Linked DNA regions of Homo sapiens: region 2 is linked to region 1. Evidence: promoter capture Hi-C in 16 types of primary human blood cells and fetal thymus (Javierre and others, 2016). All regions are on one chromosome and are shown on one strand. The core of a region is centred on a gene start or on the middle of the fragment in contact, and the rest is flanking DNA. Distances in the headings are between cores, read along the strand shown. Region 1 holds the start of HLX (H2.0 like homeobox). Region 2 has its middle 18 kb from the start of TRT-TGT2-1.

What was found. Contacts are between HindIII fragments. The CHiCAGO score rates a contact against its expected background, and 5 or more counts as called.
Region 2: a fragment that was not itself captured here is called in contact with the fragment with the promoter of HLX in region 1 in 3 of 17 cell types (fetal thymus, total B cells and naive B cells); the score reaches 9.7 in fetal thymus.

What each region holds. Positions count from the first base shown.
Region 1 is chr1:220,878,075-220,880,839 of GRCh38, forward strand. It overlaps HLX (H2.0 like homeobox), which reads left to right and starts at 1,369. Exons shown (of 4, transcript NM_021958.4): 1 at 1,369-2,375. The coding sequence starts at 1,784. HLX-AS1 (HLX antisense RNA 1) reads right to left here and starts at 2,066. Exons shown (of 3, transcript NR_046901.1): 1 at 1,775-2,066. RefSeq lists a silencer at 926-975 and an enhancer at 2,094-2,702. The HindIII fragment of the contact is 7,579 bases long and covers 1-2,765 here.
Region 2 is chr1:222,445,703-222,448,402 of GRCh38, forward strand. No RefSeq gene overlaps it. Among named protein-coding and RNA genes, the nearest start is that of TRT-TGT2-1, 18 kb to the right of the region's middle. The HindIII fragment of the contact is 171 bases long and covers 1,357-1,527 here.

The sequences.
Region 1 (2,765 bases), core at 119-2,618:
AACTCGAGATAGGCATGGCAAGTTCACTTGCTTTTCTGGGTTTATTTGGTGAGGAGCCTTCGTGCTGAAGGGAAATAAAAATGTCACAGAATCCCTGTTAGGAGATGCTTATTAGGGCAATCGAAAACAAAAGTTTTCGTGGTTTCATTATTCGTATTATTTTATTTTCTTCCTGAAAATGTGCAAGAACAGCTCATCTGGGTGGCCTGTGGTTTGTTTGGGAGAGGGGTGGGGAAATTCATTCTGACTATAATTTAAAGAGAAGAAATTCTTAAAATAGATATGTCGATGTTGCACAAAACCTCCACCACCACTACCCTGCGTTCTAAAGACCCAAGGCACGAATGGAAGACGTTGACCACCACGCAGCTCCTCCTGCAACCAGGCCCAAGGGGTTCCTGGGGAAGCTGTCACAGAATTGAAAGCAGTATTGAACCCCACGGAAATCTGCTCTTGTGGGCACTTGCAAAACAACGAACCCCACGTGATCCGGAGATGTGGTGGAGGGGTGAGGCTAACATTTCCTACAACCTCCTGCAAAGGATGGAAGCGCGTGCCGCTCTCCCGGGTTTCGGGAGGCAGCCTGTTTTGTAGCCTCTGAGGCTCCGGGGAAAGGTTTGGCTGCGTCTAAGAGAGACGTTTGGAGCCATCCGTCTTATTTTGTTTGAAAAGTCACTCGTTCAATTTGTCACTGTGTGACAGCTCAGAATAAAACCAATTTGCGGCCGCCCCTCCTCCTCGCTTCCCGGAGGATCTCCTGGGAGGCACGAGGCGGACGCGGTGCTGAGTTGGGCCGGGACTCAGGGCGGCAACATTTGGGCAAGGGCCCAGGAAAGATGAGGGGCTTTGCCGAGGACACGGACTCCTGGAATAAAAGCAGAATGAGGTCAAGAGAAGGGAAGCAAAGGGGCCAAAGCGCGCTCCGCTCTCCACCGGGAGGCGGGCTTTGCAGAGCCCTAAAGAGTGAGATTACCGTCCCTTCCCCACGCCCCCAACTCGCCCCGGGTGACAAGCGCTTCAGGAAAGCTCCTGTGATCAACCCTCCTTGCCCCGTGGCGGTTCGGAGCTGCAGAAGTTAGAAGAGAGTCAGAGCCCTCCGGAGCGGCTGCCTGGCCCCTACGCAGAGTAGCAAGAAGCACTGCGATGTGCGCTACTAAGCCCACGCGGCCGCAGCAAAAACTTTGGCGTGGCCGGGGCGTGGCTAGGGTCCGGCCAGGCCCCCTTGTTCCTAATTCCCCTCCACTCCCCGCTCCCATTGGTCACGAGGATGACCAATGAGCGCTCGGATCGAGGTCCTACCCCGGGCCTGACTCGAAAGCTCCTGCCAAAACTTTGGGAGTTTTTAGAGACGAGTTTTTTTTTTTTTCTATTACTTTTCCCCCCCCCTAACTAACGGACTATTATTGTTGTTGTTTTAAATTTAGCTCTTAGGGCTTAGCTATTTGGGTTTTCTTGCGGTGTCCGGCTCCCGTCTCCCTGGCTCCCCCGCCCGCCCTGCGGCCCCAGCGCCCCTCGCTCTCATCCAGCCCGCGAGGAGTGCGGGCGCCGCGCCGCCTTTAAAGCGAGGCCAGGGAGCGAGGCGGTGACCGGCCGAGATCCGGCCCTCGCCTCCTCCCTCGGTGGCGCTAGGGCTCCCGGCCTCTCTTCCTCAGTGCGGGCGGAGAAGCGAAAGCGGATCGTCCTCGGCTGCCGCCGCCTTCTCCGGGACTCGCGCGCCCCTCCCCGCGCGCCCACCCACCCAGTCCGGCTGGACTGCGGCAGCCGCGCGGCTCACCCCGGCAGGATGTTCGCAGCCGGGCTGGCTCCCTTCTACGCCTCCAACTTCAGCCTCTGGTCGGCCGCTTACTGCTCCTCGGCCGGCCCAGGCGGCTGCTCCTTCCCCTTGGACCCCGCCGCCGTCAAAAAGCCCTCCTTCTGCATCGCAGACATTCTGCACGCCGGCGTGGGGGATCTGGGGGCGGCCCCGGAGGGCCTGGCAGGGGCCTCGGCCGCCGCCCTCACCGCGCACTTGGGCTCGGTTCACCCGCACGCCTCTTTCCAAGCGGCGGCCAGATCCCCGCTTCGACCCACCCCAGTGGTGGCGCCCTCCGAAGTCCCGGCTGGCTTCCCGCAGCGGCTGTCTCCGCTCTCAGCCGCCTACCACCACCATCACCCGCAACAACAACAGCAGCAGCAACAGCCGCAGCAGCAACAGCCTCCGCCTCCGCCCCGGGCTGGCGCCCTGCAGCCCCCGGCCTCGGGGACGCGAGTGGTTCCGAACCCCCACCACAGTGGCTCTGCCCCGGCCCCCTCCAGCAAAGACCTCAAATTTGGAATTGACCGCATTTTATCTGCAGAATTTGACCCAAAAGTCAAAGAAGGCAACACGCTGAGAGGTAGGTCTTGGGCGGGAGGCTGCAGGCCTCTGACCACTGACCCACTCCCCGGACCCCGGGCTGGCTTGGGGTGCCTTTGAGTGTTTTTACAATTAAGGACAAATCGGTAAAACGGGAGAGAAGAAAACGAATTGTAAGAAAACTACAAAACATTAGGTCTAAAACTCACCTGTTCTATGTAAAACAAACAAAAAATGACTCCAGGGATTCTTTAAAAACACGTCTTAGAATCAATATTTATAAAAGTGGTTGGTGTAATTATCTGCTAACATGACTTTGATCTCTTTAATAATGTATCTAGAGACAGAATTATATTTTCTGACAGCTAAAGCATTTTTGGGAAACACTTTCGCACTTATCTGATTTCTAGTAAAAATTTCACCCAGGAAA
Region 2 (2,700 bases), core at 192-2,691, 1.6 Mb after region 1:
GATGGCACTAAGCCATTCTTGAGAAAGCCACCTCCATGACCCAACACCTCCCGCTATGCCCCATCTCCAACACACTGGAGATCATATTTCAACATGAGATTTGGAGGGGACAAATATCCAAACCATATCACCATCCTTCAATGGTCAGCTCCTCTCTGTAGCCATCTCAGCCCTCCCTCCCTCCTCATGTCCCCTCATCTGTGTTCCTGAGCACCCTATACCCACCTCTGGGACAGTCCATGCACATGGCAGCATGAGTCGTGCATTTATGTAACTATCTTTTCTGCGAAGCTGGGTTCCCCCGAGGCAGGGTCCAAGCCTCAGGCATTGGTAGCTCTCCAATATCATGCCCTGTTCCTGGCATATGGTGGGTCCTCATGTTGGTGGTCACTGTTAAAGCCCAATCATAAAGCCAGATGGAGTGATGTTACCAGGTCTTAGATGTCAGAAGGTCCTTGTGCCTTGACATAGGTCCAGCATAAGCTGTTATAATATACACCAAATACATGGGACCCTCTTAGGTTCCCTTTCCTTTTCCAGACACAAGTCCTTTGACACACGTCAGTGTTGTTCCTGTCGATTCAGTACCCCATCCCCAAGTTCTGACCTGCAGAGGCATGATGAAGCATTTTCATCGCTGTGGTGAATCTTATTAATATCGGCACACAGATTGGCCTATTCATCAGTGCATATAAAAAACTAGCCACAGAAAAGGAAAAACTTGACCATAGGCCAAGGAGTTTGCGGGGCTTATATTTATCCAAATTATTTTGGCATTAATACCATGCTGCAAAGTCTACAAAATCAAAAACGCGGAACTCTGGAAATGAGCAAGGTTAAACTAAGACCCGTTGCTGTAGTTATTTGCAATTACCACTCACTGCCTGAGTCTGCAGTGAGCTGCCCAGCAATAGCCTGTGCTCCCCTGGGATTCTGCCCATGAGGTCCCTGGTGCCACCTGCAGCCTCCCAATGCCATCTCCAGCCTGGGAAAGAGAGTGAGCATAGGCATGGGAGGCATTAACCAGAGAGAGGATGCATACAGTAATGAGATCAAAGTGGAGGTGAGGGCTTGTGCATTCAGGTCTGTGGATCAGGCTGATGATAGCAGACAAAAGTACAGGAAGGATGCTTACTTCTTGACATCAGTCTTCCAATAACGTGGCCAAGAGTCGAAGCTCTGCTCACCACTCACAAACTGTGAACGTTTGGGCAAGTTACTTATCCTCTCTGGGCCAGTCTCCTCATCCGTAAACTTGGAAATCATGGCCCCTGTGTCACAGGGCTGTCATGAGGATCAAGTTAACAATATATAAAAGTGTGTTTGAACAGTGTCTGGGGCATGATATGTGTTACAAGCTTGTTGTTATCTTTATCTGGACTCGGTCCTCCTTTCTGATCACCTTACTAGGTGACATCACATTCAGCTTTTATTCATTCATTCAATAAACACCTACTGAGTGCAGCTAGAGCACACTTTCCTCTGCAGGGCCAAACCCAAACTCTTTCAAGGCCCAACTCTCCATGAAGCTTTTCCAGTTATCCCCCATGGACGTGACCATCCCCTCCTCCTCACTTCATTTTTTCCTCTCTTTTAGCACTTAATCCTTTTAAGTTCAAATCATAGCTTAAAGCTTCCTGAGGACAGAACCAGTGTCTGATTCATTTTTATGTTTCCCACAGCATCATCTCTCACACTGAGTGTGAAGTCATTAAATAGTGTGGAATGAATAAAGGAAAACTTAGGATGAAAAGCAGGAAAAAGCAGCTCTCTGGGCTTCTCATCACCAGAGCCTGTTTTTAAAAGGTAGCTAGGAGACCATAAATTGAACCGTCTACAAAAATTATTTTGTACTTAGTTTATGCACTGCACAAACCAACACATAATTTTTTTAAATGAGAAAACCCAATGTCTTCACCATAGGATCTAATAATCAAGAAAAAGGGAAGAACCCAGTGCCCGTTTGCAGTCCTGAATGCTGCTCCCCCATCCCTGCTCCAGGGTCACCGAGCTTCTAGTGAATCCAAGCACCTAACTGCCACCAGACTCCCTGTGGTTCTGCTGAGGCCTTCCCACTGCCCACAGTGCTGGGGTGAAACCTGCCTTGCCCTCCCTAAAACTCTCACTCTCTCATAAAGCTTACCATCTCATCTCACATTTCACCATGATTTGGGGGCCACAGAATGAATGTCCCCATTTCCTCCACTTTATCCCCATCCTTTTTCCTTCCACCACATCTGAGAAGACCAACCACTCTCCCTTCCAAAGGCCCTCTTTCCTGGGCTCAGGTTATCCTCCCCTGGTTCTGACTTCCCCAATCTTGCTTTCCTCCCTCCAGCCTTTTCCCCTCTTCCACTTATTAGGACAATCTCTACTCCTGCACAAACTTAAGCAGTTTACTTAACCTCAACTATAAAAGCTAAGGTAATTTTTGGTTTAGGTTTTTCTTGATTTTTCAGAAAGACAGGCAGGATCTTGCTCTGTTGCCCAGGCTGGAGTACAGTGGTGCAATCATGGCTCACTGAAGCTTTGAACTCCTGGGCTCAAGCAATCCTCCTGCCTCAGCCTCCCAAAACAATGGGATTACAAGCATAAGCTGCTGTGCCCAGACAAAAACTAAGATAATAATAAAACTCATCTCTCAGATCACACGTGAGAAAGGATTTGCAAAGCAAAGAGCTTACAAAAATGTTAGGCATT